Regions from separate parts of the Homo sapiens genome. Here regions 1, 2 and 4 are each linked to region 3. Evidence: promoter capture Hi-C in 16 types of primary human blood cells and fetal thymus (Javierre and others, 2016). All regions are on one chromosome and are shown on one strand. The core of a region is centred on a gene start or on the middle of the fragment in contact, and the rest is flanking DNA. Distances in the headings are between cores, read along the strand shown. Region 1 holds the start of LINC02771 (long intergenic non-protein coding RNA 2771). Region 2 has its middle 23 kb from the start of LINC02771. Region 3 holds the start of BATF3 (basic leucine zipper ATF-like transcription factor 3). Region 4 has its middle 18 kb from the start of LINC02771.

Region 1 (6,159 bases), core at 1,145-3,644, 220 kb after region 3:
GCCTGGGCAACATGGTGTAACCCCTTCTTTTACAAAAGAAATAGCTCAGCTTTATGGTGCGCATCTGTAGTCCCAGCTACTCTGGAGGCTAAGGTGGGAGGATCGCTTGAGCCTGGGAGGTCAAGGCTGCGGTGAGCCGAGATCGCACCACTGCAACTCCAGCCTGGATGACAGGGCAAGACCCTGTCTCAAAAAAAAAAAAAAAAAAAAGGAAAGCCAATTACTTGTTTCACTATGTTGAAATTTTATTTTTTAACAGTGCCCTTGGTTGGCCAGCTCTGCGCATAAAAGTGAAGATGGCGTGGCAGATGCCAAGAGACCCACAAAGGGGCTGTGCAGATTCCGGGAGTGAGATGTGGCGGTGTCTGGAAGGACAGAGCAAGAAGAGCAGGTCTGGGGTTTCCCAGGCCAGATGCTTGTCTACCCTCTACTGCTCTCTAGTGGCCAGAGTCCAGAAGCCGGGCAAGCCTTTCAGCTTTCCTCCTCAGAATAATGTCAGAGCAAGTGGGAGCACAGAGGAGAAGCTCCCGGCTCTACAGGTCAGAGGACACAGTGCTTCCACTGAGCGTCATAAGTCTTTATAATGGGGCCAGACCAGCTGGCAGGGCTGTGACAGGCAAGGTGCAGGGAATGACATGGGCAAAACCATGGAGACTTGAGATTATATTGCACCGTCAGAGAATGCAAATTATTTGGTAGGACCAGAAGCTAGGGTGTGAAGAGGGTGGTGAAGAATGGGCCTGAGACCAGTGGAACAGAACAGAAGCCTCAGAAATAACACCACACATCTACAACCGTCTGATCTTTAACAAACCTGAAAAATAAAAAAGAAATGGGGAAAGGATTCCCTATTTAATAAATGGTGCTGGGAAAACTGGCTAATCATATGTACAAAGCTGAAACTGGATCCTTTCCTTACACCTTACACAAAAATTAATTCAAGATGGATTAAAGACTTAAATGTAAGGCCTAAAACCATAAAAACCCTAGAAGAAAACCTAGGCAATACCATTCAGGATATAGGCATGGGCAAGGATTTCATGACTAAAACACCAAAAGCAATGGCAACAAAAGCCAAAATAGACAAATGGGATCTAATTAAACTAAAGAGCTTCTGCACAGCAAAAGAAACTACCATCTGAGTGAACAGGCAACCTACAGAATGGGAGAAAATTTTTGCAATCTACCCATCTGACAATGGGCTAATATCCAGAATCTACAAAGAACTTAAACAAATTTATGAGAAAAAAAAAACCCCATCAAAAAGTGGGCAAAGGATATGGAACAGATACGTCTCAAAAGAAGACATTTATGTGGCCAACACGCAGGAAAAAATGCTCATCATCACTGGTCATTAGAGAAATGCAAATCAAAACCACAATGAGATACCATCTCACGCCAGTTAGTATGGCGATCATTAAAAAGTCAGGAAACAACAGATGAGATGCTGGAGAGGATGTGGAGAAATAGGAATGCTTTTACACTGTTGGTGTAAATCAGTTCAACCATTGTGGAAGACAGTGTGGCAATTCCTCAAGGATCTAGAACTTGAAAGACCATTTGACCCAGCAATCTCATTACTGGGTATATACCCAAAGGATTATAAATCATGCTACTATAAAGACACATGCACACGTATGTTTATTGTGGCACTATTCACAATAGCAAAGACTTGGAGCCAACCCAAATGTCCATCAATGATAGACTGGTTAAAGAAAATGTGGCACATATACACCATGGAATACTATGCAGCCATGAAAAAGAATGAGTTCATGTCCTTTGCAGGGACATGGATGAAGCTGGAAACCATCATTCTCAGCAAACTATCACAAGGACAGAAAACCAAACACCGCATGTTCTCACTCATAGGTGGGAACTCAACAATGAGAACACTTGGACACAGGGCGGGGGAACATCACACACCAGGGCCTGTCAGGGGGTTGGGGGCTGGGGGAGGGATAGCATTAGGAGATATACCGAATGTAAATGACAAGTTGATGGGTGCAGCAAACCAATATGGTACATGTATACCTATGTAGCAAACCTGCACGTTGTGCACATGTACCTTAGAACTTAAAGTATAATAAAAAATAAATAAATAAAAAAGAAGAAGAGTGGGTTTGAGAGATGGCCTGAGGCTTTGCCTAGAAGGGAGTTTGGAATGCATCATAGACCATTGAAAGCCTTCCAAGGGTTTAAGCAGGGGCATAATATAGGGATTCCTCCTAGAAAGAAACATTCTCAAATTTGCACTTTAGAAAGATCATTTTAGCAAGAGTGTGGAGTATGGAATAGAGAGTCTAGTAGCTGAGGCCCTGCCCTCAGCTAAGCAATGTCAGTGGGGACAGAGAAAAGAGAACCCATTCATCCTTTATTCATTCATCTAAGACATATGCCAGGCTTGCTGGAATTGCAAAGCTGCGCCCAGAAACCCACATTCTCCCCTTTCTGCACAATGTGGAAGAAAGCCACGGACCTGCCCACATACTTGGAGCCCCAAAATCTTGACCGTCGCTGGCAAGAGTTGGAGCCTGATTTGTGTGGGCAGTTCAGCTGCTTTATTTTTTTAGCATTGATAACTGGCATACTGATTAGGTAACAACTCTTAAGAATTGAATAGTACTACATCGCCATTTTATAGGAATAAGGAAATTGAGGCATAGCAAGGCAGGTTCCACCCAAGGCCAGCTGGCTCCTGAGTCTATCCTCTTAACCATTCGCTATTCCTTCCTCTTTGTGCTGATCACACAGCAATGCTCAGGATGCTCAGAACAGCTTTGGGGAGTGTTTTGCCTCTAATGTCCTCATCTTGTTCTCTAGCCTCATTCAACCTGTTTCCTGTTCCCTGGAAGTCATTTTATGGCTAAATAAATCCCAACGAAATGTTAACTCTGAAGACAGGCACCTCCTGCCTTCTCCCCTGGACCCCCTTTCTGCTTGGAGTCCTGGTGTTTGCCATAGTGTCTGTATTTTCAGAAGGTTAATGGGTGCAGGATCCCACATTAGGACTTACAGGGAGGGCTCAGCCTCTGACCTCAGAAAATTCAGGTCCCAGGGGGAGTCAAGACAGATGAACTATTCAGTCTGTTCGTTATTCTAGCTATCAGCATCTTCAGCTAACCTGGTGTTTTTTAATGTAGTTTGAGAGTCTCTAAATTGATTTCATGACCCACTAACTAGCATCTCAAATCACATTTTATTTAAATGAAATTGAATGAAATACAAAACATGAAGTGTATTGCATATAGTACAATTAATAATTGTTTCAAGAAAATTTCTGTTTTAGTTGTGTGTATCTGAGTGTATATGTGTGTGTGTGTGTGTGTACACACTTGATTACAATATAAAATACATTTCTTACTGTGAGTCCAGTCAAAAAGTTAAAGCACCACATATCTTAATATTTTCTCCCTCTGGCTTCACAATAATTGTTTGCAGCAGTTTTACAACCTATGGTTTGTTCAAGGAAATACGAAAAAAGAGTTTTGATCCGCGGACCTGTGAAGGAGCAGAGGAGCCAGGCTGAGCCAGCACATGAGGGAAGCCCTTGGATCCAGACACTGCAGCAGAGCTAGGGCTGGCCAAAGGGCTGCATGGACAATAACTGGCTCACACTGAGGGCCCCGCTCCTCACCTGCCTATCTTAAGCCACCTGTTCTCTCTCTCTCTCTCTCTCTCTCTCTTTTTCTTTAAATACAGATGGCGTCTCGCTATGTTGCCCAGGTTGGTCTCAAAACTCCTGACCTCAAGCGATCCTCTCACCTCAGCCAACCAAAGTGCTGGGATTACAGGCATGAGTCACTGCACCTGGCCCAGTCACCTGTTCATGAAAACCCCAAGGCTCGCTGCTACCCAACCCGAGGTCAAGACTGGCCAGAAGGTGTGCAGATACCCTCTCGCCTATTCAGCTGTTGCCTACTGAAGCCTGATCTGCAGCTCCCACTGCACCGCTCAGGCAGCCAAATGGGGAGGAAAAACCACAGAGTGGTCGTAAGCTGTTCTTCCGCAGGCTCTTAAGCATTGGTCTCTAACCAACAAGGCCTGGCATATGTATTGAATTTATTTATTTATCATTATTATTGTTATTTTAGAGCTGGAGGTCTTGCTTTGTTGCCTAGGCTGGTCTTGAACCTTCTCACCCATTGCTTGGACCAGCTGGCAGCCCACGGGTATACCCCAAGCAATCCTCCTGCCTCGGCCTGCCAAAGTGCTGGGATTACAAGCATGAGCCACCATGCCTGGCCTTGAATGTACTGAACTTATTCTTCCGTGTATCCCAGGCACAGACCCACTTTCTGTGAATGGGAGAGTGGTCTGGCCATGGCTCACTGGCCTGTGGGTTAGCAGGACTGATTTGGCTGCTTCTCAGAGGCCCCTCCAACCAGAGCTGCGTCTTCATTCAGGGAAGATGACCTTCTCCAAAAGGGCCCCTCTCCAGACCCTACAATCAAAGGTATGCCTCTGTGTGGAAACCACATAAATGCACTTATCTTTCCTCTACAAAACTGAAACTCCTGACACCCCCAACTCCCCACCATCTGGGCAGGGTGGTTTTGTTTTTTTCCAAGAAGCAAATAATTCTAGAAGTCAGAGAGAGTGGGGCCCGGAATCAGGCAGCCTGGACTTTCATCTCAGATCTGCTTATGAGAGAATGCCTGTGGGCAGGTTGTTTAGCCTCCCCAAGGGTCAGCGGCCTCCCCTGTAAAGCAGAAGATAATAATAGCTCCTATTTCAGCAGGTTACCATGAGAATAAAATAAGGTAATACAGGAAGGCAGGTAATCCAATACTCAGCATATAGTAAATGCTCACTAAATACTACCTACCATCATCATAATGACTGTGGTTATTATGACAGTCTCTAGGCAGCCCCAGAGTGGCCATAGGTCTGAGAGCCCCACAGGGCCCCTCCTGGTTGATTCCCCAAATCCACTTCTCCATCACCCTCACTGACCTTCTCCCACTGTGAGGCCTCCTGCCTTCCACAGGACCTGCCTGCTGTCTCACCTCTTCATAGCTCACCTCTCTTCTCTACCCCAAGGCTGGCTTTGAGGGACCCTGGCTCCACAGTCCTTGCCACAGTATGAACAAGGTAATGTGGGGTCTGGCACGAAAGGACCTGGGTTAGAGTCCTTGCTCGGCTGCTGCCTGTAGGGAGGCATGGCTGTGTCCTTCAAGTAAATCAGGATGGACCAGAGACGGGTACCAAGTCTGAGACCCCACCAACAAGGATGGTCTCACCCATCAGGCAGGGCCCAGGGCCTAAGGTTTGTGACCGTGGCTCCTTGCTGCAGGTGGAAGTGGCAGCTAATGTCCAGTAGGCAGAAGGATGCATCCTGGGGCCAGGGTGTGGAAACGGGAGCAGGCAGGCAGCCTCTGTCCATCTCCTGGACAGGGTTCAAGGGACACACAATGGGAGCAGGACCTCAGATTGAGGGAACTGAGGCTGGAGCCCAGACACACAACCTGGGCGGGGAGAGTTTCTGCGATGTCTTGTTTTTGTGGAAAAGTCTTGGACGCACACACTGGTAGCTGAAGGTTCACCATCTGCGGAATCTACATGGGGACAGTCTATGAGCACGGGTGATGATGAGCCCAATGAGGGGATTCGCTGCAGCGACCCACCTGGGCCCTGAGCCCTGGATCAGCCTGGAGGGGCTGAACCCCTCCCTGCTAAGGCCGCTGTGTGGGGAGGGGCTGTGCTGGTCCTGGGGACTTCCTGCCTGAAGACGGGTGTGGGCCAGTGGGAACAGAGCCTGCAGCTGGCTCCGCACTCCCAGAGCCAGGAGGCAGGCATGGGAAATAGGCTCACAGAATACTCATTGTATACTAAGAGACGTTTGTCCCCTGAGCCCCCTTTTACTCTTCTAGAAGGCGGGAATGGCGATGATTTCCAATATATAAATTCATAGGTGTGTTACTGAAATGAATACAAGGAGTGGTTTGCAAACAGCTGAACTAACGTTCTTATAGTGTCATTAATTATCCTTGGGGTAAGTACGCAAACCCTTTGTTTTACAAGAATCACTACAATCTAAAGATAACACAACAAGTTGGGAAAGTTACAAAGGTTTCTGAAATCAGAAAAGGCTTCTGAGCAAGAACGGCTTTGGTTATTACTCCAGCCATGGTGGGGATGAGTGCCTGCATGGGGGAGGAG
Region 2 (5,489 bases), core at 2,526-5,025, 210 kb after region 3:
CTTTTTCCTTCTCAATCAGCCAGAAGCACCAATGAAACCCCAAGGTCCACCCAGCTAGTAACTGAAAAAAGCTTTTATGGTCAAAATCTCCCTAGTGCTCAATTGTTCTCTCCTTGGGGGCAGATGGGGATTCTGAAGCGGGGGCCTGAGCAGAAACCTGGAGCTTCTGCATCCCTGATGGACCCGACAAGCCTCTCTGGGCTTTGGTTCTTTTGGCTACCAGGACATTTCTCAGATTTCAGACCAAGCCTGGGTGAGCATGGAGCACTACCTTCAGCCAGGCACTCTGTCCGCATATGTAAACTCGTTTTGTACAACTCGACTACGGAGATACTTTTATTACTTTTATTATTGTCCCCATTTTACAGTTGGAGAAAGCAAAGCAAGGAGTAGATAAGTAACATGCCCACATCTCACAGCACAAGCGCAGACCCAAGCAGTCTAGCTCCACAGCGGCTGCCTGGAACTATCAGCTTATGCTAATAGTTCCCCCTGACTGCAGGGCACGCAACCTGAGTCAAAGTCCAAACTATATGCAGCCTTCATTCCTTCAGCAAGTATTTACTGAGCATTTACTATATGTAGGGCATTTCTGAAGCTCTGAAGTTCATGGCTGGATCCAGGGTTGGATGCTGCAAACCTTTGGCTGGACACTGAGCTAAGTAATGCATGTGGAACAATCCCATTGGCTGCTTGTGGAAACTGAGTGAGGGCAGGGCTAGTTCCTCTCATTTGGGGCAGCCTGAGAGAGGTATCCTGACCCATGCAGTAGAAATAGAGGCTAGATCCCCCTGTGCAGAGCAAAAGCACCAAGCACTGAGGTTGGAGGAGACTTCTGTCCTCATGTAGCTTATGTTGGATATAGTGTGGGGACACAGGAAATGAACACAAACAAGTAAACAATATACTTCAAAATGGTTATAAAGGCTGTAAATTAAATGTAACATGGAAATGAGACTGTTATGGGTTGAACTATGTTTCCACAAAAAAACTAGGGGTTCTGCATGAATCCCTAGTACACTTATTTGGAGATAGGTTTTGTTGTTGTTGTTGTTGTTGTTGTTGTTGTTGAGACAAAGTCTCGCTCTGTCGCCCAGGCTGGAGTGCAGTGGCATGAAAAGATAGGGTTTTTACAGAGGTAATCTAATTAAAATGAAGTCAGTAGGGTGGGCCCTAATCCAATATGACTGGTGTCCTTATAAAACAGAAATTTGGAGACAGACATGTACACAAGAAGAATGCATGTGAAGATAAAGGTGGAGACTGAAGCGATGTTTCTACAAGCCAAGGAACACCAGAGATCGCCAGCAAACCATCAGGAGCCAGGAGAGAGGGCTGGGGCAGATTCTCCCCCACAGCTCCCAGAGGGAACCAACCCTGACCTTGGACTTGTAGTCTCCAGAATTGTGACACAGTTCAGTTCTGTTGCTTTTAAGTAACTCAGTTAGTGGCACTTTGTTACAGCAGCCACTGCAAACTAATATAGGGACAAAGAGTGTTAGGGGAAGAGCAGGATTTTGGCTACCAGATCGGGTAAGGTCTATCTGAGGAGGTGACACTGGGGCTGAGACCTGAATATTGGGAAGGAGATGGTTGTGGGAAAAGCCGGGGAAAATCCACATCCTAGAGATGGAAACAAACCTGCCATATCTGCAGCAAAGCTGAAAGGTGTGTGTCTGGAGCCAGGTGAGGGAGGGTGGACAGGTTCAAGCTGAGGGCAGAAGGAAGGCAGGGCCCCAGAGCAGGTAGGGACTTTCATAGTACATGCTGGGAAACCAATGCGGGGAATGGTTTTAGGCAAAGAGTGATGTGAGACCCTACTTTCCCCTTGAAAAGATCCCTCTGGCTGCCCCAAGTGGACTTGAAGGTGAGGCAGGGGAAAGTCGGCTAGGAAGGTGAGGCTCAGGTTCAGCTGCAAAGTGATGGAGGCTCAGATGAGGGGTCTGGCGGAGGAGCAGGGAAGTGATCTGGTTGGTGATAAACTCTGGAGGCAGAACTCCAACAGGACTTGCTGGTGGACCCACCGTGGGATGAGACAAAAAGAGAGTCAACTGTGACCCTTACGATTTTGTCTGAGCAACAGAGTGGACAGCGCTGCTTTTTACTGTGGGATAATGAAGGGGTAGAGTGGAGAGTTGTTCTGAAGAGGGACAGCCAGCCTCCATCCAAACGTGACTTCTAAAATGAGGCCAAACTGAAGATTGAAGAAACAGAGTCCCTGTCCTGGAACTCAAAGCCTGAGGGACACAGATGTGTAAACAATAGCAATGCAACGTGTGAAGTAGCTGGTGACACAGCTGTGGGAGTGATTCTGGGGAAGTTGGACAGAAGAGGTTTTTGTTTTGTTTTGTCAAAAACCATTTCTAAGTTACATAAGTGCTGCAAAAATAGTACAAAAAATTCCCGATACCCTTCACCCACTTTCCCCAAATGTTAACATCTTACATGTTTACAGTGCATCATCAAAACCAGGAAATTGACATAACTACAAACCTGATTCAAATTTTGTCAATTGCCCCACAAATGTCCTTATCTGACCAGGAGCCGATCCAGGATCACATAGAGCATTTGTTGCCAAGCTTCCTTGTTTCCTCTAGTCTGGGATAGTTCCTCAGCTTACACTTACACTTTCATGACCTTCAAACATTTGAAGAATACTAGACACTTATTTTGTAGGATGTCCTTCAATTTGGGTTTAGCTGGTATTTCCTCAGGTTGTGAATTATTTATTTATTATTTATGTTTTTCTTTACTTATTTATTTACTTATTTATTTTGAGACAGGGTCTCACTCTGTCACCCCGGCTGCAGTGCAGTGGCACGATCTTGGCTCACTGCAACGTCCGCCTCCCAGGTTCAGGTGATCCTCCCACTTCAGCCTCCTGAGCAGCTGGGACTACAGGCACACTCCACAGCACGCTACGGCTAATTTTTAAATTATTTATAGAGACAAGGTCTCCCTATGTTGCCCAGGCTGATCTCAAACTTCTGGACTCAAACGATCCTCCTGCCTCAGCCTCCCAAAGTGCTGATATTACAGGCATGAGCCACCACGCTCAGCCAAATTTTTTAAGAGCACCACATAAGTTTATGTTGTGCCTTTCTTGGTACATTATATCAGATGGTACATGAGGTTGATATGTTCTATTATTTATTATGTTAACTCTGATCACCTGGTTAAGGTGGAGTCTGCCACATTTTTCCTACTATAAAGTGACTACTTTTCTCTTTGCAATTACTAACCATCTTATGGGAAGGCGCTTTGAGATAATGTAAGCATCTTGTTTCTCTACATTTTCGCTCATGAGTGTTTGTTTCCATTGATGATTCTTGCTTAACACAACTATAATGGTAAGTGTTTGCCAAGTGTTTTCTATTTCCATCATGCCTTCTAATTCCTACTAATTATAATGCTGCTTTAAGGAAGAACTCTCCCTTCTTGCCTGTTTATTTGCTTATTCGAATATTTACCTCTATTGGTATAGACTCATTACTTCTTGTTTTATCCTTAAATGCTGTAAGTTATAATCTATTGTGATCATTATTTATTTTGTGGCTCCAACTATCTCATTTTCGGCCATCAGCAGCCCCTTCAAGTTAGCTCGTGGGTTCAAGAGGAAAGTTTTGAGCAGGGTCATGAACAAGGCATGGGGGCTTGATAGAGAAGAGGGAGAGGAAAGGCTTCCAGGCCTGAGGGAGCCTTGAGGACATAGCTAGCACCCTCTGAGGATGTTGGCTGTCCTCTGAGCTGGCTGGTCCTCACTATGAGGGCCAGGAGGATGCAGCCACACACCTTGCTCAGATGGACAGACCTCCACAGAACGCCATGTCCGTGTGGGCTTCGCCGCCAGCAGGACTTCCTCAAGGATCTTCTGGAGCTGCAGCCATGAATTCCCAGCACTCAGGGTGTTAGTGCATCCACCTGGGTTTGCTCATGAGAAGCCCTCCACCATGTCCATGAACCCCTCCCGCCACCTCCTGCCTGCCATTGCTTTGCCAGACTGGATATCATCCAGGGCTGTGGTGTCCCCACTGCTCTGCCTGTGTCTGAAGGGTGTTTCCTGGACTTCTCTGCCTGAAGAACTTGTACCAGGGGAGGCTCTCAGAGCTATGGAGTGGCAGAACCATGTGTCCTACAGATTATTTAGCACACCGGCTATTGTTTTGACTTGTATGTTGTCATTTTCTCAATCCAGGGCCTCTGTGAAGTCTTGAGTGGATGCCCAATAGGCTAAACAGAAGGGAGTGGGTGGAAGGGGTAGAGGAATGGCAGTTGCAGGACCATCATTCTGGTCAAGGCCCCAGTTGGCAGGGATAGAGCTGGGCCCTGAAGGGAAAATGGCCAATCTAAGGTCACAGGGACAGTTGGTGGCTAAGCAGAACTAAAATCCAGTGTCCATGTCCTTCTCACCATTCCACATTCCCAATCCACTCTGCTTCTTGTTTATCAGCTACTGATGAGGCCACAGTCCGGGTGTACGTGTCCATTTCTCTTGTTTCCCCTGCAGGCAGAGAGATGGAGGCCAATCTTCTGGCCCCTTTCTGGGCCAGGGCCTCTAGGCACATGGGCAGCACTGACCACTTGCCCACAGGGAAGGGGAATGTCCTGGGTCACGTAGCAAGCACAAGGCTGAGGGCAAGTCTGGGATCACCTTGCAGCCTCTCCACTGTAGGCCCATGACCTCACCCAGACCAGCACTAAGTTAGCCACCCCTTCTTCCATCTCTTCTTCCTCTTCCTTCAGTCCCAGAGGGGAAATGGGGCCCTTTTTCTTTTTTTCTTTTTAAATTTCAAATTAAGGGCTGGATGCTGTGGCTCACAGCTATAATCCCAGGAATTTGGGAGACTGAGGCAGAAGGATCGCTTGAGGCCAGGAGTTTGAGAGCAGCCTGGGCAACATAGCAAGAACCCATCTCTATTTTTTTAATTAAAAAAATTAAAAATAAATAAATAGATTTCAAAGTAAGCTTACAGTAGGTTAAACATTCACGATTCAAAATTCAAAACATACAAAAGTTATGCTGTAAGAAGTCTCCTTTTTGACCCTATCCTGTGGACACTCACTTTCCAGCTGTGGTTAGTTTCTCCTGCAGCTTTCCAGAGATGTCTGCATAAGGCCTTACAAATGGTTTCTGTAAAGAGCCAGGTAGAAAATACGTTCAGCTTTGAGAGCCATAGGCCTCCTCTCACAACTTTTCAATACTGCATGGTAGTACAAAAGCAGCCACAGATGATACCTAAACTAATGAATGTGGCTGTGTTCCTGTGAAATTTTTTTATGGACACTGAAATTTGAATTTCATGTAATTTTCATATATCACAAAATATTATTCTTGGCCAGGTGCAGTGGCTCACGCCTGTAATGCTAGCACTTTGGGAGGCCAAGGCAGGTGGATCACCTGAGGTCAGGAATTCCAGACCAGCCTGGCCAACATGGTGAAACCCCATCTGTACTAAAAATACAAAAATTAGCTGGGTGTGGTGGCACAC
Region 3 (5,671 bases), core at 1,429-3,928:
TACTCTCCCCAGCATTTGATATTACTTTTTATTTTGCTAACTTAAAAAGGGTTCTTATTTTAATATATATTTTCCTATACCTATTTTCCTTGATTATTTCTTCTGCTGGGAAATGCCATTTCATATCCCTTCTGCAATTTACCTTTGCGGGTTGTCTCAATATTCTTCTTCTTCTTTTTCGTGGGCTGTATATTAACCCTTTCTCATATGCACTGTATTTATCCAATCTGTTTGTTTTACATTCCTGGTTATACTGTCATCTAAAACAATTTAGCCCTTTTATATAGTTCAGATCTTATCAAGTCAATTTCTCCTATTACATGTATTCTTATAAGATCCTTTCCTTATCTTATCTCCACAACTTTATTTTATTTATTTGAGATAAGGTCTTGCTCTGTTGCCCTGGAGGCTGGAGTGCAGTGGTGCAATCATAGCTCATTGCAGCCTCAAACTCCTGAGCTTAAGTGATCCTCCTGCCTCAGCGTCCTGAGTAGCTGGGACTACAGGTGTGCACCACCACACTCAGCTAGTTGATTTCTTTTAATTTTTGGTAGAGTTGGGGGTCTCACTATGTTGCCTATGCTTCCATGACTTAAATAAGAATTTAATTCTGCTTTAGCTCTCTGATTTTCATTTCTGTATCTAGCTATTTAATCCATTCATTTTGATGTATGATCTTTACATCAAATTGATCTCTGCCCTAAATGCTACCTAGTTAACCAAGACTAAATGTATTTGAAGAAACCCTTGCGTAACACAAGACAGTAGACTATGCCTATATAAAGAGTTCGTGTGTGCTGGGACATGGTTTCAGGCTCCCTGGGGAGAGACAGGGAAGCAGCAGCCCCAAAGGACTTAAAATGTGATGTGGTTCAGTGAGAAAAGTGGGCATGACCAGAATAAAGTGTAGGAGTGCACGGGAATGTTCCCGAGGTGTTTCTACCTTGCCTTTTCTGTGCATAAAAAACACTGGGGAATGAAATCACTTCTGAAAATGATAACCCCTTGACCCAGATGTTTTCCTAGCTCGTTAGAGCCCTTTTAGTGCTTCAGGAATGAGAGCTTTCAGCTGACCTAGTGCAATACATATACTGAGCACCTGTTGAGTGTATGTAGCGTGCTATGCTAGGCACCTTGTGTGGGTACCTTGTGGGATGCAAAATAGTCCTGGGGCAACCACCAGTTAAGCTGAGTGATGAAATAACGGAGAGGAAAAGATTAATCCGGGCAGATAACCCAGCGTAGCGCTGGCTCTGCTGCGCAGCCTTGCTGCTGTGGAGTGTGGCGCTGCAACTCTAAAGGGCTGCGTCCACCCTCCGTCTTCCTCCCCGCCTCTCAGTTGGCCGAAGCTTCTGATCACACAGACAAGAATCTCCGCTCGCTTTCCCGCTGGCCTCCAGGCAGCCAAGTTCACTCAAGCTCTCTCAAAGCTTTTGCAAGAGTGGGTCTTAAATCCTGGCGGGGGGCACGTGCACTCATTTAAGACTTAAAAAGGAATCGGAAATGACTGTCCCCATGCCCACTGCTGCCCACAAACCTGAAGACCCAAGCGACCACACTTGGTAGGCACTTCTGCCCTTCTGGTCTGGTTCCCACCCGCCCATCCCGAATCGCGGTTATCTTTCCCGGTGCTCACAGCATGCAGACCACAGCCTGTGGCCGCTAGTGTTTCCTTCGCTAGGACCACGGGTAATTGTCTTGGCTTCGCATCTTTTGACTGGCAGGCAGGTGGACAGGGACTTGCCCTACCTCAACCCGGTCCCCAGCTTGGCACGAGCAGATAAATCTTGAAAAAGAAAAATGATCTGGGCCGTTTAACCGTGGCATGGCGGGTCCAGATCCCCAAACCTGTCACTAGTGACGTCCCACGTGGCAGATTCGCTCTCAGGGAAGCCCGTCACCGTTTTTGTCCGGGACATCCTCCCCATGCCCACCCTCCGCTCCGGGAATTCACCCTCGGGGCCGCCCCGCCTCGTTCCCTCCCACAGCCCGGCGGACCCGAGACGGGAAGGGCAGGCACTCCCTGCAGAGTCCCTGGGGCGCCCGTGGCTCGGGGTGCGCGGTGGGACTCGGTGAAGCCGGCGTCTTCACCCCAGAGCCGCGGCTTCGGGGCCGCTGGAGGAGCGAGAGTGGCGCCCGGATGACTGATCGCCGCGGAGAAAGTCCCCCGGGACTGTGACCCCCGCGCCGGGGGGCGGACGCAGGGCGTGGCTGAGGCGCAGGAAGATGCCGCGATGGGACCGGGAAAAAACACCGACCCCAAAACACCCACTGTGTTTCTCAACCTGAGTTCCCCGGCAGCCGCCGAAGGACCCCAAAGGCTGCATGGCGCCCCCCTGGTCCCCACCCCCCCGGGCGTCGCCTCGCGTGGGTGGGCTTCGCGTTCCCTCCGGGGTTTCAGAGCCACCACGTGACTTCCACGAAGCGCGGGGCGCCGGCGGAAAGCCGCGGCAGGGGTGGGATTTGGGACCCCGAGGTGCGGAGAGAGGGCGGGCAGAGGAGGAAACGAGGCGGGGGTGGGAGAAGGAGGGCGGGGCAGACGTGGGACGGGAAGGACGGCTGCCGGGACTGGCGCGCGGGGACACTGGGCCGACGCGTGGAGTAGCGGGGAGAGCGGGAAGCCTGAGGGGGCGGGGCCGGCGCGAGGCCGTGGGTGCGGCACGAGGATGCCGGCGGCGGGACAGCGCCCGTAGGCAGCCCCACGGGCAGGGCGCGCGGGCGGGGCGGGGCGGGCCGGGCCAGAGGAGCGCCCGGCATGTCGCAAGGGCTCCCGGCCGCCGGCAGCGTCCTGCAGAGGAGCGTCGCGGCGCCCGGGAACCAGCCGCAGCCGCAGCCGCAGCAGCAGGTAGAGGGCGAGAGGCTCAGGGAGGGCCGTGGGGTGCGGGGACCGGCGCGCCGCGGGGGGCGAGGAGGTGGGTGCTGGAGTTCCGTGGTGGTGACTGCGGAGGTGCAGAGGTGGCGGGTGCGGCCGGAGACAAGCAGAGGTAGGGGCGTAGGGATGTTGGGGAATGGGGGCGATCCAGGGACCCTGTCGTGCGCACAGTGTCCGCGGCTCCTGGAATGGCTCCTGAGCCAGCTCCTGCGCCCTCTGGGGGAAGAAGCCCGAGGGCGCCGACGCCTGGCTGGGCCGGGCATGGCCGGTGCTCCCCGGCACGTGGGCTCCGCACTGCCCTGAGGGCCGCCCCATCCTGGCGCAGCCAGCGACTGCCACCCCACCACCCGCGCCTGTAGCCCCTCCAGGATTCCCCCGGGTGGGGGGGGTGCTGCCGCGGGAATGGAGAACGCCGGACTAGTCAGCCTGGGCGGAGGGAACCCACAAAGGGCCGACTCCGCCCCCAGCTGGTGGAAACCCTTTGCCCCTTCCCAGTTCGCTGTCCCCTAGCAACGTTTACAGCGGCGCAGTCAGGAAGGAGACCAGGTTGGCCACAGGGACGGCCGTCTGGAAACTTTGCCTGGGTCTTGGCCACCTGCCTTACGACGAAGACTGGGTCTTTTCATCCTTACTCCCCACCTTCCCAATTCAGCGCCCGGCCCATGTCATCAGGTGTCGCTGGAGTGTCACAGAGATCTGAGTTTGGGCCTGGGCTTTGCCACACACAGGCTGAGCAGCCTTGAGCAATTTGTTTAACCTCTCGGACCGTCCATTTCCCCATCTGTAAAATGAATATAGTAACATCAACCTCTCAGGATTTTTGAGACTGAATCAGATATGGTTAATAACATAATACTATCTCTAACTTTCGCTCACCTCTTTCTGTCTTGATTAAATGTTTCTGCTGGGTTGGCAGGTGTGATCATGGTGATGAGTCCAGTTTAGAGTCAGCTCCCCGAGGGCAGTATGCAGGCTGCTTTCTTGTGCTAGTGACTTTTTGATTACAGAGAGCAAAGAGGCATGAGAAGCACTATGCAGAATACATTTTTTTTTAAAGTAGCAACTTCAACAAAGGCAGGTAACTTCTTGAGGGCATACTGTATGCTGGGAGCTTTAGGACAAAATCTCATTTCATCGCATCCCAATCCTAAGCATTAGGCTGTTAGCACCAAGTCTGCAGAGTTCACTGACCCTTTGTTTAGGGCTTGTATCCCCAGTGTCTAGAACAGTGTCTGGCACATGGTAGGTGCTCAGTTAATACATATTGAAAGAATGAATGAATTATGCTTACAATAAATGAGAAAACTGAAAATTTAGAGAATTTAAACCATTTACACAAGACCATGTTGACACTAAGAGACAAAACTAGGATCTGTGTGATTCTAAAGCTAAAGAGCTGTCTTCTAACCACATGTTCCCCTGTAATGTTCTGGTTTTGTTTATCAAGACTTCTTTGCCTCTCTAGAAGACTGTATTATCATACTTTGTTCCCTTAAGCTTCTATTTGCTATGTATGTTATTTATTCCTCTCCTTTTTATGCCTTTATATTCTTGCATATCTGAAACTTCTTACCTGCAGTAACTTGGGAAGATGTGTGTCTTATGTGGAATACAAGATGAGATCAAATGATAACTGAAAATATCCTTTTTTGTGTTATTAATATTTGCATTCCGTGAATATTAATAACTGAGTAGTTTTCCTTGTTTGTACCTCTTGGCTCTTAAACTCTGTAAGTGTGGTATTTTTCCCGCTTGGTGGTGTCTTCTCATGGGGTTCTAGAAAGCAAATACTGCTCTCCTTTTTCATGTTTTCTATAGCTGATTGAAGTGTTTTTACCATGGTCAGTGCATTTTTCCGCCTGCCTGTTTCATGATCACTATTGAGGGATTTGACTGAATTTGGTTAAATCTTACATATAGCTAACAGCTTTCAAGACACATAAAAAATTTGCTGACTTCTGAAACAAAATGTCAGCCAAGCATTGTTCAAATGAGTACACTGTCAGTGGGGTTTAAGATCATTTGGTGTGTTGGTAGAGTTATGTGGCTGCAATTAGTTGTAAGTGTAATCATGATTTGCATGCAGTATCAAAAGTACCTTTCATGTGTGGTGGTATAAGGACTGGCAAACAGCAAGTTCCAGATAGCAGATCTCTCCACCGCCCCCCACCCCCACCCAGCTTTCCAGTCTCAGATGGACGACATTGACACCACAGCTCTTCCAGGCACACGCCCTGTGGGCTAGAGGTTTATGAACGTTGATTTGGAGACCAACAGACCTGAGTTCCACTTCCCACTCACCCACTTAGTGGCTGTAATACCTGGAGCAAGGTCCTTAACCTCTCTGAGTTTCTTATTCCTCATCTTTTAAACGGCGGTCACACCACACACTTCACACACTCACATGGTGAGTGCTCCTGGGCAAGGGGCTGTTGTGAGCCCATTGGTATAGCAACTAGTGGTGCTGTCTACTGCAAAGCAAATGATGAAGCTCAGTGAACAACGCTGAGTGATGAGACAGGGCAGAAAAGGGTAAGGCGAGGGGCCACGACATCACACCCACCCAGTGTTTTTCCCCAGAGCCCTGAGGATGATGACAGGAAGGTCCGAAGGAGAGAAAAAAACCGAGTTGCTGCTCAGAGAAGTCGGAAGAAGCAGACCCAGAAGGCTGACAAGCTCCATGAGGTGAGACCGTGGTAGGGGCAAGCCACCTTAGAGCCACACAGCCTCTGCCTTGCACGGGAGTGGGGGTGATGACTGTTCTCTTTATCACGATTTCAGCAACACTCATATCTAATT
Region 4 (6,224 bases), core at 1,148-3,647, 240 kb after region 3:
GCTAAGAAGGTATCATGGAGGAAGCACTACCACCCCAAGGACGAGGCAGCAAAGGGGTGCATTTGGAATGATTAAAACTTAGAGACAGGAGCACCTTGTGGGGCTGGAACCAGACATCTGGTGAGGTGGGGGGTGCCTGCCGGCTGGTGTTGGCCTCTGAATTAGGGGTGAAGTTAGTTCTACAAGTGTTAGAAAGATTGTAAACTGAATTTAGCTGCTGCTATGGTAAGGAACTGCTGCTGCCGGGGTGAAGAAGTACTACCGGAGCCGCTTACAAGAACAGAAGTAAACAAGAAAAAGAGGGCTTCCCTCCAGCTTTCCAGTGTCCTTCTAGCACCCCCTACTGGCTGAATCCGATAGGAAGCAGCTGCCAAAGCCAAAAGTGGTTTGCCAAGTCCCAGCCCTACCATCAAAGAAGAGAGAATAGAAGAAGGACTAGAGTGACCAGGAGCTGAAGCCTGAGCCTGCTCTCATGCACACATGTGTGCACGCACACTTGCCTATGCTCACAGGTATACACCTACACATGGACCACAAGCGCCCTCTCCACAGATTTGATTGTGGGTCCTACGCTTTGGGTGTCACGCAAAGTCAGCAAACCTCAAGGCCTTGACTACAGAGACTTTTCTGATTCTGAAACTCCGGCCTCAAACATCACCCATCATCGTCCCATCCCCAAACAGCCACCAGTTTGAGTCCTTTCTGTAAAAAGGAAGCTCAGAGTTCTCCATCTCTGGAGAGATACCTGGGCTTTCAGGGAGAAAATGTCAACAGCAGCCACCCCATGTCTCCTGGAGGGGACTCCAGTAGAGGCCCAGGGAAAAGCAAGCTCTGCACCAAACTGCCCAGTGTGTAGTGAACACAACAGAGCTCATTTACCAACAGGAGGCACACACTAAACACATTCTTCTGGTCTCTGCTTAATCCCAGCTCATTCTGTCTTATTAGGTCCCTCTGCTCTCCTATTGTTTTCCACCACTGTGCATTGCTGTGTCGTTCAGAGCATGTGTCACAGTGTGCTTTTTTTTTTTCCAAAATGTGCTGTCTGTCTATCTCCTCCTCTAGATTGCCAACTCACAAGAGTGGGGCCATGCCAGCTTCTTCCACCCCTGCAGACTCAGGGCCTGGCACATCATAAGTCTCAAGTGTTTGTCAAATGAATCTATTAAAAAATAGAAAATGGCTCTAGAGGCATTGAGATAAATGGACAGGTGATGGATCTGTAGATTGGGGTGTATGCGACATAACGAACTCTGAGGAATGTTGTGGAAGGCAATTGCTCTCCTGTCCTACAAACCATCTCCAGATAAAGAGGACAGCAGGCAGGATGACTGCTCTGCCATCATGGTGTTTCTGCTGTGCTTGTGACTCTGTTCAGCCCTGTACATCCATGGAGATTAGGGCCTGAACCCAGGCTTCTCCCCTCATCCCAACTTCACCTCTGCTTCTTGGAAGGCATGGGGCTCATTGAGTGTTATAGCTGGTGGGACCCTATAGATTACAAAGGTGGCTCCACATCACCATCACCTGGGGAACATTTAAAAACATCAGTGTCTGGACACTACCACTAGTTTCCGATTCTTTGAGTTCCACAGTTCAGTGTAGCATAGTGGATGCCCAGAAACATGAACTCAAGTCCTAACTCTGCCACATACTGTATGATCTTGGCCAAGTTACTTGACTTCTCTCTGCCTCGATTTCTGGAGATGACAGCAGTATCAATCTCACAGGCTTGTTGTGAGGATCAAAGTCAACAATGTATGTGAAGCTCTTGGTGCAATGTCTGGCTCAGAGTAAATACTGAATAAAATGTAGCTATTATTGAAATTATTATCTCACAGCTACTTAGCGGCTGGCGTGGGATGAGCCTCCTGATCCTGGATCCAGTGTTCTTTCCAACACGTCACTCTGAATGTGCACACAGCCTGAGGTCAGACTCGGCAAGGCAAACATATAGTTGCTCTCCCTGGGACCCTTTAATTAAACCGTATGGAACAGAGAACTGCCCCTGAGAACCAACAGCAGATCTGACCCCTGGGAAGCAGAGAGCTGGAGAACACAGGAGTTCGGCAGTGCAGCTTTCAGGTCCTTTGGGAAGCCATTTGGCTGCTTCTGTTAGCATTTCATTATGGAAATACTGGGAACCAAAAATAGAAGTTCTTGAGGGAGCTTAATCCTCTGGGCTTTACAAAACAGCTGCTGGAGAGTTCCCGGAATTGACCACCAGGGGGCACTGTCGTCCCATGCAGGCAGCTGCTGGTGGGTCGGACCAGGACAGAAGTGTCCAAGAAAAAACCAACACCCTTCAGCAAGCTCCTACCCCAAGCCTGCCTTGCTGGGGACTCTGTGGCTGGGATCCCTGTGGATCTCCACAGCTCCTGGTCCTAGAGAAACCACTTTGCAACTCAGCCCACTGCTCTCCTCTTTGGGGACCCTTAAGAGCAGAGCAGGTTCCTGCATTTATTTTAATCGATCCTTCCTCCCACCTCACCCCAAAACCAGGACCTAGGGCAGTGCTGGACATATAATAAGCAAGAAATATGCATCTCCTTTGTTGATTAATGGATATGTGAAATCAGGTGCAATTGTTAAATTGTGGGACGTATCAAATAACAAAATTTCAATAAATTGAGCTGTAAAGGTCTAGTTTGCCTTTATTAGCAATTCATGAACTGGGCAGTATCCAGTCTACAAAATAAAAAGGAACTCCCATGAGCTGAGCTAAGGGCTGAGCTTATAGGCAGAAAAGGCTGAAGAAAGCCAAAACAAGAAATAAGATGCAGATTGGCCGTTTCAAAGTTACTTTCCTTATTGAGGATCTTGTTAGCCTAATGGGATATGACTATCAACTCTCTCCTGATTTCTCAGAAGCTCAGATCCAAGTAAACAGCTTCGTTTTTGGTTTCGTGGTGCGGAACCTTAGTGTGAGTGACTCCATTTTGGATGGGTCTGTTGGACCCTAATGCAGGAGGTCAGTCCAAATAATGGCCTCCCATACATTTTGTTTAACAGAAGGAAACTGCTTGATCTTTGAAGGAATGGCAGAGAGAGTGCAGTGGTGTGAATCAGACAGAGGTTATGAGTGACAGTTAAGGGGAGGGTCATGGATAAACGGGAAAGGGGAAGAAGTGAGAGGGCTCAGGCAGGAAGGCAACAGATGTATTTCAGGGATCCTGAGTAGTAAGAGATTCCTCAATGTGGAGGCCAAATCCAGAAATATGGGGGAGATTAGACAAGGGAGTCCCAGCCACAGCTCACATGGCCTCCAGGTGGGCATCACCGGCCACCACAGCCACTATGACCTCTCCTATCTTTGGGGTGGCTTGCAGCTGCCACCAGCAGGCTCTGAGCTCCCACAGGTGGGCCTGGGTCCCACGACCTCCCTCTGGGTGATGCCATGGGGCTTAGTACCCTGAGCCTGTATCACACATCCTTAGTCCGAGAGAGCCTCTCTCAAATGACAGCAGGTCTTGTTCACCACAGAATTCTGTGAAGACTAGAGCACAAGAAATACTTGTTAACTAAAGGATTAAACTATGTGTTAAAAAAAAAAAAAAAAAAAAAAAGCAAAACAAGGCCAGGTGTAGTGGCACATGCCTACAATCCCAGCACTTTGGCAGGCCGAGGCAGGAGGATTACTTGAGATCAGGAGTTCAAGACCACCCTGGCCAACATAGTGAAACTCTGTCTTTACTAAAAGTAAAAAAATTAGCCGGGTGTGGTGGCAGGTGCCTGTAATCCCAGCTACTTGGGAGGCTGAGGCAGGAGAATCACTTGAACCCAGGAGGCAGAGGTTGCAGTTTGCACCATTGCACTCCAGCCTGGGAGACAGAGAGACAGACAGACACACACATACACACACACACACACACAGAAGTAGAGTCTCTCTCCACAGGACCTCCAGGTACCTTCCCTGGCTATGATTTTAGAGTCTCTGCCACCAGCTCGGCATGCCACATCCTAATTCCAATGGCCCTGGGGTGGAGCTCCCTGGAAGGCTCGATCTTGAAGCACAACAGGGCAGAATGGAAAGTGGCCAGGCTGGAAGGAAGACTTGCCTTGGAATCTCAGCTCCAGCACCTCTCAGTTGTCAGAGGTGTAGTTTCCCTTGCAAGTTACTTATGCTTCCTAAGACCCAACCAAATGTTAGTACCACCTTGAAGAGAATAAATTAAGCCGCAAACATGGCATGCCAGCACCTGGCTCATGCTAGCCCAGTGCCGCTATTGCAATGACCATCAGCACCGACTTGGACAAGAGGCAGGGGCAGGGGCAGTGAGGCAGGAAGTAGGCTTCAGCTGGGAGAGGCAAGGACAGGGTAGAGGTAACTGCAGCCAAGGGGGCGGGGGGACAGCAGGGGAGCAAAAGCCTGGCTCACACACAGGGAAAAGACAGCAGCAGCCTGGCTGATCAGGCTACTCTGAAATAGCTGCACCCACCAGCCACCCACTGGAGACCTTAGGCTTCCGCTCCCTGACACCTCAGGGTCACACTCGCTCCAGGTTCTGCCTCCAGCCCCGCTTAGTGTCTCAGCTGCTGGATTTTCCCTCTCTCAGGATCTCCTAGAGCCTGGCTTCCTGTGGACGGTTTGCAGCCAGCTTGGCAATGCCTTCCCAGCACCCTCCCAGCCCGTGCTCCCAACTGTCACCCCAAGGGTTTAGCATGCAGAAGCCCCATGCCCTCTAATCATCCCAGAGAGGAGGTAGTGGTGACAAGATCTGAGCCTTGGGCAGCACCTACACTAAACTTTGGTGGAGGGGTAAACTTGCAAGAGCTAGGCCATGAGCCCGGCTGGAGGGCAGGGAAGCTGAAGACCTGGGCAGAGACCAAACTGTCGTGAAGGGGCTTGGTCAGCCCAGCACAAGGGGTCCACACATGCACACACGATATTAGACCCTGGCAGCAAGGCTGAGTCTCCCGCTGGCAGCTTCTGAAGTCCTCTGACTACCCAGATAAGGCACTGGACAGGGCAGGGCAGCCAGAAGAGGCCCTTGGTGACCCTACAGAGAGGGCGCAGGGGCAGCAGCCCAGGGACTGACGGGGCGGATGGTCTGGGCTGATGGGGCAGCTCCTCCAGCCCATTATTTTCCTTTGGGCTTCAGAGCAGGTGGTCTCCAGGAAGCCATGAGACTAGGAGAGGCAGCTCAGAGGGCACGCTGGCCAGCCAAGATTTGGAGAGTGAGCAGTGAGGGCGGCGTTTGTTTTCCTCCCAGCCTCGAGGCTTTCCTGGACCGCCCACCCTAGTTACCATTTGCTGTGGTGGTTGCCAGGGGAACCACTTACTATTTTTATACATTCCCCAGATGATGAAGCTGCAGAAATGCTCAGGCGAAGTTGGTCCAGGAGTAATCCTGGAAGCGATGCCCAGGCAGGCTCTGCTGGAAACTTGGCTGGAGGGTGGGGAGCCGCTCTGATGCTTCAGGAATCAGATGCACACCCCTGAGTAAGGGGTGAAAGAGGGCTGCAAGGAAGGCATGTGCCCTGGGTGAGGGAGCACCAATCCATCGCCTCATTCATTCATTCACCACGTGTCCATTTGCCAATGCATTCATTTTTATCTCACATCAAAGGTGCTGGGCTTGTGCTACGTGATACAGTTGTGAATGGGGCAAGTGCGTCCCCGCCTGGTGGGGAGGAAAACACAAAGTAAATACAATTACAGTTCAGTGAGATCTGATACCGCAGGGGCAAGTCAGGTACTGTGTGCCCACCTTGGCAGGGAGAGGTCTGAGAAAGCTTCCTTGAGGAAGTAATATCTAAGCCAAGATAGGGTTTTACATGCAATGTGGGCAAGTAGGAAGAACATTCCAGGCAGAAGAACAACAGCATGTGCAAAGGCCCAGGGGAGACTGTGAATACCGCACCTTCTGGAACAAAAGTCACTTCACTTCTGGAGTCAGGACTAGGGCCCAACCCAGTGGGAAGTGGAAAGCTGTAGAGACCCAAACCATCAGGGGGTTGGGGGTGAGACAAACTGCACCACAGTGGTACACCCAGAACACCAGCTATTAGGCCTCTGGCAGCAAGACTGCAGTCTGGGCAAGGCCCCTGGGAGAGAGGAGCAGGCTTTCCCACTGCCCTTGGGACTCTGGGAGAATCTATAGGGCACCTGGGAAACCTGAGACTCTGAGGCTGTACGAGGGAGTCTTCCATCGGAGGAGCTGAGTTAATGCTCTCAGTTCTGGGCTGGGCGGGATGTGTCCAGGGATGAGGAAGACAGAGGG

What was found. The method cuts DNA at HindIII sites, captures the fragments that hold promoters and counts their contacts. A CHiCAGO score of 5 or more calls a contact.
Region 1: a fragment that was not itself captured here is called in contact with the fragment with the promoter of BATF3 in region 3 in 12 of 17 cell types (megakaryocytes, M1 macrophages, M0 macrophages and 9 more); the score reaches 15.9 in megakaryocytes.
Region 2: a fragment that was not itself captured here is called in contact with the fragment with the promoter of BATF3 in region 3 in 7 of 17 cell types (megakaryocytes, M0 macrophages, erythroblasts and 4 more); the score reaches 9.1 in megakaryocytes.
Region 4: a contact is called between a fragment that was not itself captured here and the fragment with the promoter of BATF3 in region 3, in 4 of 17 cell types (M0 macrophages, M1 macrophages, M2 macrophages and 1 more). The highest score is 9.1, in M0 macrophages.

What each region holds. Positions count from the first base shown.
Region 1 is chr1:212,471,609-212,477,767 of GRCh38, reverse strand. It overlaps LINC02771 (long intergenic non-protein coding RNA 2771), which reads left to right and starts at 4,890. Exons shown (of 3, transcript NR_183725.1): 1 at 4,890-5,091. RefSeq lists enhancers at 5,185-5,685, 5,686-6,159. The HindIII fragment of the contact is 9,575 bases long and covers 1-6,159 here.
Region 2 is chr1:212,492,816-212,498,304 of GRCh38, reverse strand. No RefSeq gene overlaps it. Among named protein-coding and RNA genes, the nearest start is that of LINC02771, 23 kb to the right of the region's middle. The HindIII fragment of the contact is 2,387 bases long and covers 2,582-4,968 here.
Region 3 is chr1:212,696,847-212,702,517 of GRCh38, reverse strand. It overlaps BATF3 (basic leucine zipper ATF-like transcription factor 3), which reads left to right and starts at 2,678. Exons shown (of 3, transcript NM_018664.3): 1 at 2,678-2,845; 2 at 5,453-5,557. The coding sequence starts at 2,756. RefSeq lists silencers at 2,661-2,740, 2,931-3,380. The HindIII fragment of the contact is 2,939 bases long and covers 1,433-4,371 here.
Region 4 is chr1:212,452,064-212,458,287 of GRCh38, reverse strand. No RefSeq gene overlaps it. Among named protein-coding and RNA genes, the nearest start is that of LINC02771, 18 kb to the left of the region's middle. RefSeq lists enhancers at 4,508-4,677, 4,756-5,575. The HindIII fragment of the contact is 6,682 bases long and covers 1-5,738 here.